Linked DNA regions of Homo sapiens: regions 1 and 3 are each linked to region 2. The links are contacts of gene promoters, found by promoter capture Hi-C in blood cells and fetal thymus (Javierre and others, 2016). All regions are on one chromosome and are shown on one strand. Each heading gives the region's core, a stretch centred on a gene start or on the middle of the fragment in contact. The rest is flanking DNA. Distances are from core to core; before and after follow the strand shown. Region 1 holds the start of MPLKIP (M-phase specific PLK1 interacting protein). Region 2 holds the start of C7orf25 (chromosome 7 open reading frame 25). Region 3 has its middle 2.4 kb from the start of TBRG4.

Region 1 (4,263 bases), core at 214-2,713, 2.8 Mb after region 2:
GCAGAGGTTGTGGTGAACCAAGATCGCGCCACTGCACTCCAGCCTGGGCGACAGAGCGAGACTGTCTCAAAAAAAAAAAAAAAAATCCTGCATCCTGCAACTAATTTCAAGATTCATAGTGGGCCGCGCGCATAATCATAGAGATTACGTCTGTAATCTCAACACTTTGGGAGGCCGAGGCGGGAGGATAACTTGAGGTCAGGAATTCGAGACCAGCCTGGCCAATATGGCGAAACCCCGTCTCTACTAAAAATACAAAAATTAGTTGGGCGTGGTGGCGCATGCCTATAATCCCAGCTACTCGGAAGGCTGAAGCAGGAAAATCTCCTGAACACGGGAGGAGGAGGTTGCAGTGAGCCGAGATCGCGCCACTGCAGTCCAGCCTGGGCGAGACAGCGAGACTCCGTCTCAAAAAAAAGAGAAAAAAAGAAAAAAGGAAAAAAAAGATTCATAGTGGATTACCATTCCCAAATTCAGAGGGAGTAAAGAAAGTTCTATAACACTGTAGTAAAGCTAAATTTCATCCTCTAAATAAAATTCTGCAACAGGTAACTGTACAAGGGCATCTTTTATTGTACATGAAGTGTCAAGTTATTCAAAGCAGCGGGCTAAAGTCCTTTCTGAAATGTGGCTTGGTGTGCATTTTCGAAGTTACTTAAACTTGGCGGACGAAAGGACAGGAGTAAAGAGGCCCCAAACGCGAGCCGCGGGACGCGCAGGAGCGGGACCCCACGGCGCACGGAGCCCTCGGTCACAACAACGCACGGGACAGAGGCGACCCTGGGCGGCCAGAGCGGGGCAGGCCGGCCGCAGGCCCACGGAACGGGGTTGCAGGGAGGCGAGCAAAGCCACCGCTAAGGGGTCAGCAGAGACTTCAGACCCTAATTGCTCTCCTCAGGGCGCCCGAGGAGGCAAGCTGGGGCAGGGATCCCTTTAGCCACCCAGACCGAATCTCGGAGGGTACCTGACTGCGGGCGGCCAGTCCACAGCCCCCTCCCGCCGCCCCGGCCGGAGAAGAGGCAGGTTCTGCGCAGAGCTGCCACCCTCGCCAGCGTCGCCAGCATCGCGTGCGTCTCAGATGGCATCGGTCCCGGTGCAAGCGGCGAACTCCGTGCGGCGCCACCCGCCGCCACTGGGGGGCGCCCACGGACGCCGCAGACCCCGCCCCCGCCGGGCGGGGCTGAGCACTAGTCGCCTGCTGGGCCAGCTTCTAGTCTGTCGGTCAGACCAAGGGCACTCAGACTGGAAAGGTTGTTGCTGGGCTTGGGTGTCCGTCCTTTCCTGTCTCCTTTTCTTCCTCTTTTCACTTAAATCCACTGAGTCTCTCGCCAAGTCAGTGATTTAGGTAATCCCGCCGCCCCTGGCGGAACCTTTGTGACGCCGGAACTGATGTGCCGTAGGGTGGCTGCGGTCGGAGGACTGTTTTGGTAAAGGACTAGCAGTTCTCTGCGGAGGGCCGGTTGATACAGTTCCGGTGGGAGAACGCGGCTGCGAGGTTTTCGGCTTTGGCTCCTGATATGCAGCGACAGAATTTTCGGCCCCCAACTCCTCCTTACCCTGGTCCGGGTGGAGGAGGTTGGGGTAGCGGAAGCAGCTTCCGGGGAACCCCGGGCGGGGGCGGACCACGGCCGCCCTCCCCTCGAGACGGGTACGGGAGTCCGCACCACACGCCGCCGTACGGGCCCCGGTCTAGGCCGTACGGGAGCAGTCACTCTCCGCGACACGGCGGCAGCTTCCCGGGGGGCCGGTTCGGGTCTCCGTCCCCTGGCGGCTACCCTGGCTCCTACTCCAGGTCCCCCGCGGGGTCCCAGCAGCAATTCGGCTACTCCCCAGGGCAGCAGCAGACCCACCCCCAGGTAATAATAATAGCCAGCGTTTGCCGAGCTCTTACTTTATGGCAGGCACGGTACTAATATTCCCTTTACGTGGATTATTTTGTCTAATCCTCTCTGAGGTACTATTGTTAGCCCAATTTTGCAGATGAGCGAACTGAGGCTTAGAGAAGTTGAGTGACTTCCGGAAGATTATCCGAAAGAGTGGCAGAGCCGTACGTTCTGTTTTCGAGCCCTCGTGCTTTTAACCAATACACTGCCACCCGTACACAGATTTTCCTAATTCTCCATTTCCTCCTGTTTGCCAAAGGCCTTGCCAGTTTGTTTCAAGAAATAGTTCTTTTTCTTTTTTTTTTTTTTTTTTTTATCTTTCTTTCGAGCTACACTGGCTTCTGCTCCAACTTCCCTGAAAAGAAAATCGGTGGTAGTGGAAGTTTTCCATTCCTTTAGTGAGAGTAAATACAAAAGACAGAGAGAGTATCTCTAGCATGTCTGGGATTTCTGTGGTTTACAACTTGCAACTACGTGGTTTTCCAACTTGCTGTATTCTACACCAACCCCCTACCCCTTTTGAGCCTGGAGCTAAGGAGTAAAGAAAATGTTCATGAGCTAGAAAGGTTCTAGAAACTTTAAAACTATAGTATTGTTTTCTCCTGAAAAAAGTGAAAATTTCGAGGGAAAATTGAATATAATTACTTGATTTCATCACTGCTTGTATTTAATTACTGCAAAGTTACTACATTAGACACAAAAGTATTTGAGATGACAGTGGTCATGGAATTATAAATAAATGAGAATAACGAATTGCTTTAAGTACTTTTTTTAAAAAATAGGAACACTTGATTAAAGGAAGCATGGACTTTGTAATTGAACATTATTTAGGTTCAAGTCACAACTTTTAAGCAGCAATGTGATTCCCGCTAACCTTTAGCTAAAGGAAGAAGTACCAATTATCTTTACTAAGTGTTTTTTTAACTGATTTTTTTTCTAAAGGGTTCTCCAAGGACATCTACACCATTTGGATCAGGGCGTGTTAGAGAAAAAAGAATGTCTAATGAGTTGGAAAATTATTTCAAGCCTTCAATGCTTGAAGATCCTTGGGCTGGCCTAGAACCAGTATCTGTAGTGGATATAAGCCAACAATACAGCAATACTCAAACATTCACAGGCAAAAAAGGAAGATACTTTTGTTAACATTTCTGAAATTCAACTGGAAGCTTCATGTGTCAGGAACATCTTGGACAAAACTTTAAGTTGTGTTGATATAAATTTACCCAAAGATGATGACTTTGATTGGATAATTAGTAAGGTCTTTTTGTTATTTTTCATCGTATCAGGTATTGTTGATATTAGAGAAAAAAGTAGGATAACTTGCAACATTTAGCTCTGGAAGTACCTACCACATTTTAGAGATTTACCGTTTCCATATATTTAACATTCCTGGTTACATAATGGACATTTGTCTTTTAATGTTTTTTCAATGTTTTAAAATAAAACATTTTGTCTTCTAGCTATTGTGGTTTTGTGGTATGATAAAGAAGTAGACTTACTACAGTAATGCTTTGTAGTCACTTAGAGTTCATAGGTAAATGTTTTGCAAATTATTTTTGAAAATGAAATAGGTAAACCATCCTTTGAGCTGTAGACAGCTCTGTATTTGTTCGTAAATAATGAGGATGAGAATAACAGAGTTCTGTTCATACTCATTTTATCTAATGCTTCTGTTAAAATGCATTAAAACTTGAAGCCCCAGAAACCCATTTAAGCATAACTTTATACTCATTTAACTGGAAAAGGCAAGAATAGACCATGCATTGCTAAATCAAAGTGTTCTATCTGAATTTCTCTATACCTCTTAGCATTATGGAGTTAGTTTCTCTTGAGGCCAAAGAAGATAGCTACCAGCAGCCTCAAATCACTTCCATTGCAAAAAGAACATCTCTCATCTCCATCAATCCAAGAGAAGACAAATTTGCCATACTTAGATCATGTTTCTGTATTATTGAACCAATTAACTGTGGCCAAGGCCACAGTGAGACCTAATTAACTTGAATCATGGACACATCACCATAATGAGACAGGATTCTGTGACCTTGAACACCACTGGGCCTACCTGGAGTAGAGAAGTGGTTTTCCAAATTAAGGGATGCTATGGATATATACCTATAGTTCTGGAGAGAAAAATATGGAAGAATTGTTACCCCAACTATTTTTTAAAAATCAAGTGGTTTTTTGTTTGTTTTTTGAGATGGAGTCTGTTGCCCAAGCTGGAGTGCAGTGGTGCAATCTTGGCTCACTGCAACCTTCGGCTCCTGAGTAGCTGGGACTACAGGCACATGTCACCATGCCTGGCTAATTTTTGTATTTTTAGTAGAGACCATGTTTTGTTTTTTTTGTTTGTTTTGTTTTGTTTTTGAAATAGGGTCTCACT
Region 2 (4,426 bases), core at 119-2,618:
GCTGAAATATCTTTTATTTGAAGATGCTAGTTATAGAATACTTTTTGAGACCATTTTGTTCTGTTTTCCATTTCCTTCAAATAACAAAAACGTTGGGAAATGCTGTGTTCGTGAGGCTCACACTAGGGGATGCTGAATGTTGGTATTGCCGAGCCATTTCTCTAGGGTCTTTTGTCTACTCATTTCTTCAGAGAAAAATAGGGTTATGGGGAGATAGTGGTAGGGAGCGGTAGAGGGGTGCCTGCATTATGGGAGGGGCAGAGAAGGGGGCTGCTAGCATTGCACTATTCAGTAGGAAAACATCATGGCACCTCTCATCCTTTGTTAGGCTTTGTGTCTGGAATCCCTCTGATGCCCTGTCTTTAGCATCTTAAACTAGTCTTCTGCCTGAACAATTTACTGCCCTCCCTTCTACCTTCAAGGCACCTGAAGCTTTCTGGGGTTCTGCTTTGTGAATCAGTGGCTAAATATCCCCTTCTACAAGCAGTTTGCTCAGTTCTCCTGACACCATCTGCAAAGAGGGTGCTTGGGTTCAGGTAACCTCCCTATGGCTCACTTATCTGTAAAGCATACTTAATATCTCTACCTTTTAGGTTGTTTAAAGGAGTGAACAATGTGTAAAACACTTAGAACAATGTCTGTCACGCTGTAAGGACTGAATAAGTTATTGCTCTTGTCCTCCAAAAATGTGTTGGTATAACCGGTCTGCAGTCATCTCTTCTCTTGTTCTTTTTGCCTTTGTTTGTTCCCTTTGTCATTGCTTTACTGTTATTTGGAGAAGGAGCATTGCTTTACTGTTAAGTTTGGAGAAGGAGCAGGATACACAGGATTAATTATAACTGGAAGTCCTCTTTAATATTTTAAATTAGCTTTACTTTCTTACAGCCCTAATCTTTCTGGGTGACTCTGGACACTCTACTACAGTAATATGAATATGGCAGCCCCTCGGAAGCCATGCAATCATTTCTTCTCTTCAGAAGGACAGCACACTTTCTTTGGAGGGCCCAGGACAATGCAGTGGAAAGTGCTTTGGCTTGGAGGCAGAAGTCCCAGAGGCAGTACTTCTCAGCTGTCACCTCTGACAAGCTTCTCCAGCGTTTCTTCTGTTAAAATGAGCCCCCAAAATGCCTACGACCCGGTTGCGATCGAGTGGCCGACGCCCCCAGTGGGAGTGAGGCCCAGCACGCGAGCTCGGTCCCTCTTCCTGGAGCCAGGTGGGTGCGCGCCTTCAGGCTCACCCGGCGGCGCAAGCGGGAGAAGCCAGGTGCCCTCAATAAACATGGCCGCCACGCCAGCGTCAACCCGGCTCGGGAGGCCGCGCTGCCGCTTGGGAATCGCAGGTTTGGCGTCACCCGGCCCGGAACCACGTGATGCAGGAGGTGCCCGAGGCGGCGGGGCTCGCGCGGGTGGAGCCGCCTCGGCGTTCGAGCGGGGTGGGGGCTGCCCGGTTGAGATTTCCCGGCGGGTCCCGGCCTCTGCGTGCACGCGCCTGCGTGCTCGCGCTCGCGGTTCTGGCGCTGCCGGTGAGGAGCCGGGGAGCGAGGCGGGGAGGCTGGGAGCGGGGCGCCTCTTCTGAGGCCAGAGGGGGCTGGGCAGGGCCGGCCCGGCGGGAAGGGGGTCGGCCGCGCGCTATCAGCGCCTGGTCCCTGAGCCGCGGCGCTGGCGGTGGGGGCTTTTCGGCCCCGGCCCCTCCTGGCAGGGCCCGGCTGTGCAGGTGGCCGGGCAGGGCCGAGGGCCCCGCAGCCCACCGAGAAGGCCCCGCCGGCCTCTGGCCCGCCCACCCGGCGACCTGCGCTGGGGCCGCTTGCACGGCCGCCGCGGGTTGCAGCCTTGGAGTTTAGTTTCATCTTCGGATTTTCCTTCAGAGTCGGAGTGGGAGTGGGACGCAAGTTGGTGGTCTTCTTCGGTCTTTTAAAATAGTCTGGGTTGACGTCAAATGCAGAAATGAGGCAGTGTTGATTTTTTTTGGCGTAAGTACCCCAAGCCTCGGGGGAAATCATGAGGCAGCCGGTTGAAGGAGACCAACTCGGGAAGGAGGAAAAGGTTAGGGAGGCTGAAGTGCTCAGTTTAGGACAGACACTTGCTTTGGACAGTTTGCTAACTAGCCAGTCTGTGTGTATTTTTGTTTTCGGCATTTTTGTCGCCTTTATTAAAATTTCTCAGCAGTTAAACAGGCCGCTGATAGACATAAGGGAATTATTTATATAGCAGATTGCCCAACTCTTGCATTGTATCCTAACCTAGGACCATGCTGTGTCCCCATGGCTTTCAAGCTGAAGAAATGAAGGTCTAAAGTGTGTCAGACGTACCTAAAGAAGAGTTCAAAAGTGTAGCTGCCATCCTTTCCTTAGCTATCAGAGGAAGCAGTCACTCCAGAATGAGACATACACAAGCCCGGGTTCATAGACTCACCCTCCATAAGCTGTGTTGCTAGATTGAAGTTTTTAATCACCAGTGAAGAATTGATTGTCATAATTTTAGGAGACTACTGAAGTTTGCCTTGTTTCTTTCCCTAGGAAAGGAATAATGCTGACAGCATGTCTGCACATTCCATGCTCTGTGAACGAATCGCCATAGCCAAGGAACTGATCAAGAGAGCAGAATCACTTTCTAGATCAAGAAAAGGTGGCATAGAAGGTGGTGCAAAGCTGTGCAGCAAATTGAAGGCAGAATTAAAATTCTTGCAGAAAGTAGAAGCTGGGAAAGTAGCTATTAAAGAGTCTCATTTACAGAGCACTAACCTAACACACCTGAGAGCCATTGTGGAATCAGCAGAAAACCTGGAAGAAGTTGTTAGTGTTCTTCATGTCTTTGGTTATACAGATACCTTAGGAGAAAAGCAAACCCTTGTGGTAGATGTAGTTGCAAATGGTGGTCATACTTGGGTGAAAGCCATTGGCCGGAAGGCTGAAGCTCTTCATAACATCTGGCTGGGCAGGGGCCAATATGGTGACAAAAGCATCATTGAGCAGGCTGAAGACTTCCTCCAGGCCAGTCACCAGCAGCCAGTGCAGTATAGCAACCCTCACATCATCTTTGCATTTTACAACAGTGTCTCCAGCCCCATGGCAGAGAAGCTGAAAGAAATGGGCATATCTGTGAGAGGAGACATAGTAGCAGTCAACGCTCTGTTAGATCACCCTGAAGAGCTTCAACCAAGTGAGAGTGAATCAGATGATGAGGGCCCTGAACTTTTGCAGGTGACCAGAGTTGACCGAGAAAATATACTAGCAAGTGTTGCGTTTCCAACAGAAATTAAGGTCGATGTGTGCAAAAGAGTAAATCTGGACATTACTACTTTAATCACATATGTATCTGCCCTCAGCTATGGAGGCTGCCACTTTATTTTCAAAGAGAAAGTGCTCACAGAACAAGCAGAGCAAGAGAGGAAAGAGCAGGTTCTACCTCAGCTGGAGGCCTTTATGAAGGACAAGGAGTTGTTTGCTTGTGAATCTGCTGTCAAGGACTTTCAGTCTATTTTAGATACCTTAGGAGGACCTGGGGAGAGAGAGAGGGCCACTGTGTTAATTAAGCGAATTAATGTGGTACCAGACCAGCCTTCTGAGCGTGCCTTGAGACTAGTGGCCAGTTCAAAAATTAATAGCCGCTCATTAACAATTTTTGGGACGGGAGACACCCTAAAAGCCATCACAATGACTGCTAATAGTGGTTTTGTCAGAGCTGCAAACAACCAGGGTGTTAAATTTAGTGTGTTTATCCATCAGCCCAGAGCACTTACTGAGAGTAAAGAGGCTCTAGCCACCCCCTTACCAAAAGACTACACAACTGACAGTGAACACTAAAGATACCCTTTAAATATTTTTGTGGAAGTAAGTTATTTATACCAAAGGCTGGGTCTTCCCATCTAAACTGGTGGGAAAAAAGGTCTATAGTAAAAGTAAAACTGAGAACTCTTAAACCAGTAGAGTTTCTTTGTCTCTCATCTAAAGTATATAACCTCCCAAAGTAGAAAAAGCACAAGAGAGAAGCTTATCTATCAAACTGTCTGCATTAGTGCAATTAAGAACCGAAATACGTCTATATAAAGCTTTCAGCTGTATTGTAATACTTTGATTCGATAGGGCTACAACTCCCCTACTGCTAACCACATTTCATGGAATATGGCTACATTGCATCTTGCATTAAATATCTGGAGAAAATTCAAGCCTGTTTTTCATTGTATTGCTTTATATGGTTTAGGCTGGGAGGTAGTCGTTGGTAATCAATTTTAGATTCTAAGGTTAACCATTAATGAAAAACTTATTTGCTGTATGTCAGGTGCAGTCTGATAGGTGTTTTTACAAAAAGTACATAATACAGAAGAAATGAGAAAGTGAATTATGGTTATTTGAGTGCCATGAACCCATTGGTAGACCTTTGTGAAAAGAAAGCCAACAATCTTACTACTATAAGATAAAACCAGGAC
Region 3 (4,461 bases), core at 1,957-4,456, 2.2 Mb before region 2:
TAAGGGCTCAGTCCCACAACACTGCCCTCACTTCAGGTGCCAGTCACAAGTAGTGGGTCCCAGACTATCCACACTTCTGTTTGACTTGGCTACAAAGCAAGGTTTCCCATGACCTGCTCTTCAGGTTTAGTAATTTGCTATAAGAGCTCACAGAAGTCAGAGAAACATTTTATCTACTGCCTTATTCCATCTGGGCTGCTGGAACAAAATACCATAGACTGAGTAATTTATAAACCCTAGAAATGTATTGCTCACAGTTCTGGAGATTGGGAAGTCCAAGATCAAGACACCAGCAGCTTCAGTGTCTGGTAAGGGCTCTCTCCCTCATAGAAGGTAACTTCTTACTGTGTCCTCACATGGCAGAAGGAGAAAGGGACAAACATGCTCCCTCGGGCCTCTTTTATAAGGGCACTAATTCCATTCACGAGGGCTCCATCCTCTTGACCTAATTACCTCCCAAAGGCCCCACCTCTTAATATCAACACTTTGCAGATTAGACTTGAACATACACATTTCGGAGGGACACAATCAGATCATAACATCTATGTTTACTAGTTTATTACAAAGCATATTTTAAAGGATACAGATGAACATCTAGATTAAAAGGGTCTTAGGGGCCAGGCACGGTGGCTCACACCTGTAATCCCAGCACTTTGGGAGGCCGAGGCGGGCGGATCACGAGATGAGGAGATCAAGACCATCCTGGCTACCACGGTGAAACCCTGTCTCTACTAAAAATACAAAAAATTAGCCGGGCATGGTGGCGTGTGCCTATAGTCCCAGCTACTCGGGAGGCTGAGGCAGGAGAACGGCATGAACCCAGGAAGCGGAGCTTGCAGTGAGCCGAGATAGCGCCACTGCACTCCAGCCTGGGCGACAGAGCGAATCTCCATCTCAAAAAAAAAAAAAAAAAAAGTCTTAGGGCCAGGTTCCAAAGGAAACTGTTCCTCTAATCACAACACTTCTGGAAGAATCTCAAGCATCAGAGCTTCTGTTCCCATGGGGTTTGGGAGGTGACACCTTCCCAGCATGTGGATGCATTCACCAACTTGGAAGCTCTCTGAACCCCATTGTTTAATAAGTTTTTATGAAGTTTCATTACCTAGGTATAATTGATAAAATCATTGGCCATTAGTAATGACAGTCAAAAGAAATGTTTTTATATGAGGAATATGAGCTTCCTCTAAATTATCAGGCCCAAAAAAAGGCATGAGAAAGAGACAGCAGTCACATCTCACTTCCTCCCTCTTGCTGAATAATCATCTTTTGAAGCTGCTTGCTATGTGGACTCTAGACTGACTGCCCCCCAAGTAGCTATAAATTAACCTAACAATACTGCATGCTGCACAACATAACTCATACCCTATCATTCAACAATGTATAGCCATCACTAATCAATGTTATTTCTGTAAACCAATGAGAATTCCTGACAAACAACTTTTTATCTGCCCCATGCCTAGTCCCCTTTTTTACCTTTAAAAACCTGCTTGTAACAAAGGCTTAATGAAGCTCATATCCCAGGTTACTTGCATGTGAGTCTTCTGGGCAGCTGTCTTCATTTTGGTTCAAATGTAAACTCTCCACTTTTATTAATTTTGCCTCCGTTTCTTCTTTTAGATAAACTGTAATCAAATCAATCTCCAGCCTCTCTCCTCTCTCTGGAGGTTGAGAGGTGGGGCTAAAAGTTTCAGCCCTCTAATCACATGGTTGGTTTCTCTGATAACCAGCTCCCATCTTCCAAAAGCCACTTCATTAGTGGCATAAACTCAGGTATGGTTAAAAGGGGCTTATGATGAATAACAAAAGATGTCACTATCATTCAAGAAGTTACAAGTGTTTTACAAATGCCCATCAATGATAGCCTGGATAAAGAAAATGTGGTACATATACACCATGGACTACTATGCAACCATAAAAAGGAATGAGATCATGTCCTTTGCAGGGACACAGATGGCGCTGAAAGCCATTATCCTTGGCAAACTAACACAGGAACAGAAAACCAAACACTGCATGTTCTCACTTATAGGTGGGAGCTGAACAATGAGAACACATGGACACAGGGAGGGGTACAACACACACTGGGGTCTGTCCATGGGACAGGGGGAAGGGAGAGCACCAGGATAAGTAGCCAATGCATGCAGGGCTTAATACCTAGGTGATGAGTTGATAGGTGCAGCAAACCACCACGGCACACGTTTACCTATATAACAAACCTGCACGTCCTGCACATGTATCCTGGAACTTTAAATTAAATTAAAATACACATACACAAATGAAAAACATCAGGATAGCAATTAGCTGGGGTGGAGGGATAAGAAAGAAGAGGAAACTCTCAGAAAATTGCAACAATATTGGTAATATTCTATTTCTTAAGTGGAGTAATGGGTTCACGGGTTTCTTTTCATAATTCTGCTTTGTAACTTGAGCATATTTAAATTTATATATACACTATATATATTATGTATATGTAGCAAACATTTTATAAATACAAATGATATTATCTTTATAAAATGCCTTAATGAAAACCTAAAGAAAAAAGTTACAAGGGTTTTAGAAGCTCTATGCAGAGACCACATATATATTTCTTAAGTCACAGGTGGCTTTTAGTATACTCAGTGTTGTGCAACCATCCCTATTATCCAATTCCAGGACACTTTTACCATCTCAAAAAGAAACCTCAAACCCATCAGAAGTCACTCCCTATTCTCCCCACCTCAACATCACATAGGTGACTCTATCAATTCACCTACTCTGGACATTGCAAATATAAATGGAACTATACAATATGTGGCCTCATGTGTCTAACTTCTTTCCCTTAGCATGTTTTCAAGGTTCTTTCCTCAACAAAACTCCATTAGTTTGTCTAAAGCTTTTCTTTTAACAGATCTATAAATCTGTTGTAATATTGTCTTTTGACAGACAACTTGTGAAGGATTTGGAGTAGAATTTGTGATAAATACATGGAATCTTAATTAACTGTTAACAGAAAAATCAAACTCTGTAAATTACTTAAAGAGGTTTATTCAGGGCCAATGAGTGACCACAGCCCCAGGAAAATACAAACCCAAAAAGCCTTAAGTGTTCCCGAGGCAGTCAGATTATAGTTTGGTTTTATACATTTCAGGGAGCCAGGGGTTACAGGCAAAGACATAAATCAATGTGTGGAAGGTATACACTGGTTTGGCTCCAAAAGACAGGATGTCTTGATGTGGGGGGTTTACAAGTTATATGTGGACTCAAATACATAGATATATACACGATATATGATTGATTGATAGATAGATAGATAGATCTCTTGGTAGGGGTAGATAGGGTCTCCCTATGTTGCCCAGGCTAGTCTTGAACTCTTGGCCTCAAGTGATCCTCCCACCTCAGCCAGCTTGACCAAGAGATTTTTTAATTTGCAACTGGTTAAAAGAGTGAGGCTCTGTGTAAAATTTGGAGTCAGCAGAAAAGAATGTTTAAGATAGTATGCCAGAATCAGCCACAATACACTGGGTCAAAAAAGACCTCTTCAGCAAGATTGATGGTCTGCAAGCTTGACTTAACCCTTGCCTTGCACGGCCTTAGGTCTTGTTTATAATTTGGTATCTTACTACCACAAAGTCTGTTAGTCTTATGATCTCTACTTTAACAAGGGGTGTTCAACCTCCCTTTCCAGAATGGCTGGGAACTCAGTTTTTAAGGTTTCTCTGGGGTCTCCTTGGCTAAGAGGAGGTCCGTTCAGTGCTTGGGGGGCTTACAATTTTATTTTTAGTTTACAAACACAAACAAACGTAATTATTTATTTTTATGTTTTTTGTTTTGTTTTTTGCGACAGAGTCTTGCTCTGTCAACCAGGCTGAGTGCAGTGGCAAGATCGCTGCTCACTGCAACCTCCACCTCCCGGATTCAAGCGATTCTCATGCCTCAGCCTCCCTAGTAGCTGGGACTACAGGTGCGCCCTACCACGCCCGGCTAATTTTTTTGTATTTTTAGTAGAGACGGGGTTTCGCCATGTTGGCCAAGCTGGTCTCGAACTCCTGAACTCAAGTGATCCGCCCACCGAGGCCTGGGATTACAGGCGTGAGCCACCGTGCGTAGCCAAGTAATTATTAACTCCACAGAAAATAAAAGGCTGTGCAGGAAGTAAAAATTAATCAAGTCCATATATAGACCTCAGATACATTTCGTTTGGGCTATCCTGCACTTTACTTTGTAATTAAACACCACTATTTAAAAATCAGGAAAATTGCACATAAAAATCCAGCTGCAAGTGGGCGCTCTGGAGTTCCCCAGTCTCCACTCACTCGTCCTCCCAGCCCCCACAGGCCTCAACGTCGCCTATCCCACTCCACCAGCCCAGTCTTCCACCGCCCTAGGAACTCTCCTACGCCTACGCAAGCAGGGAGGGATAGGGTGACAGCACCGACAACAAAGGGTCGTCTCCCGCACTCCGTATGAGGATGGCGTACTGGTCGG

The links. Contacts are between HindIII fragments. The CHiCAGO score rates a contact against its expected background, and 5 or more counts as called.
Region 1: a contact is called between the fragment with the promoter of MPLKIP here and the fragment with the promoter of C7orf25 in region 2, in 4 of 17 cell types (naive B cells, total B cells, naive CD8 T cells and 1 more). The highest score is 10.3, in naive B cells.
Region 3: a fragment that was not itself captured here is called in contact with the fragment with the promoter of C7orf25 in region 2 in 3 of 17 cell types (non-activated CD4 T cells, naive CD4 T cells and activated CD4 T cells); the score reaches 7.5 in non-activated CD4 T cells.

The regions. Positions count from the first base shown.
Region 1 is chr7:40,131,822-40,136,084 of GRCh38, reverse strand. MPLKIP (M-phase specific PLK1 interacting protein) reads left to right here and starts at 1,463. Exons shown (of 2, transcript NM_138701.4): 1 at 1,463-1,856; 2 at 2,826-4,263. The coding sequence starts at 1,518. The coding sequence ends at 3,026. SUGCT (succinyl-CoA:glutarate-CoA transferase) reads right to left here and starts at 1,080. Exons shown (of 14, transcript NM_001193313.2): 1 at 965-1,080. The coding sequence starts at 1,064. RefSeq lists silencers at 1,008-1,207, 1,668-1,737 and an enhancer at 1,388-1,457. The HindIII fragment of the contact is 4,548 bases long and covers 1-3,051 here.
Region 2 is chr7:42,909,012-42,913,437 of GRCh38, reverse strand. It overlaps C7orf25 (chromosome 7 open reading frame 25), which reads left to right and starts at 1,368. Exons shown (of 2, transcript NM_001099858.2): 1 at 1,368-1,523; 2 at 2,517-4,165. The coding sequence starts at 2,538. The coding sequence ends at 3,803. RefSeq lists a silencer at 1,537-1,796 and enhancers at 1,145-1,841, 1,842-2,539. The HindIII fragment of the contact is 2,903 bases long and covers 1,089-3,991 here.
Region 3 is chr7:45,111,903-45,116,363 of GRCh38, reverse strand. No RefSeq gene overlaps it. Among named protein-coding and RNA genes, the nearest start is that of TBRG4, 2.4 kb to the right of the region's middle. RefSeq lists enhancers at 4,140-4,461, 4,259-4,461. The HindIII fragment of the contact is 669 bases long and covers 2,872-3,540 here.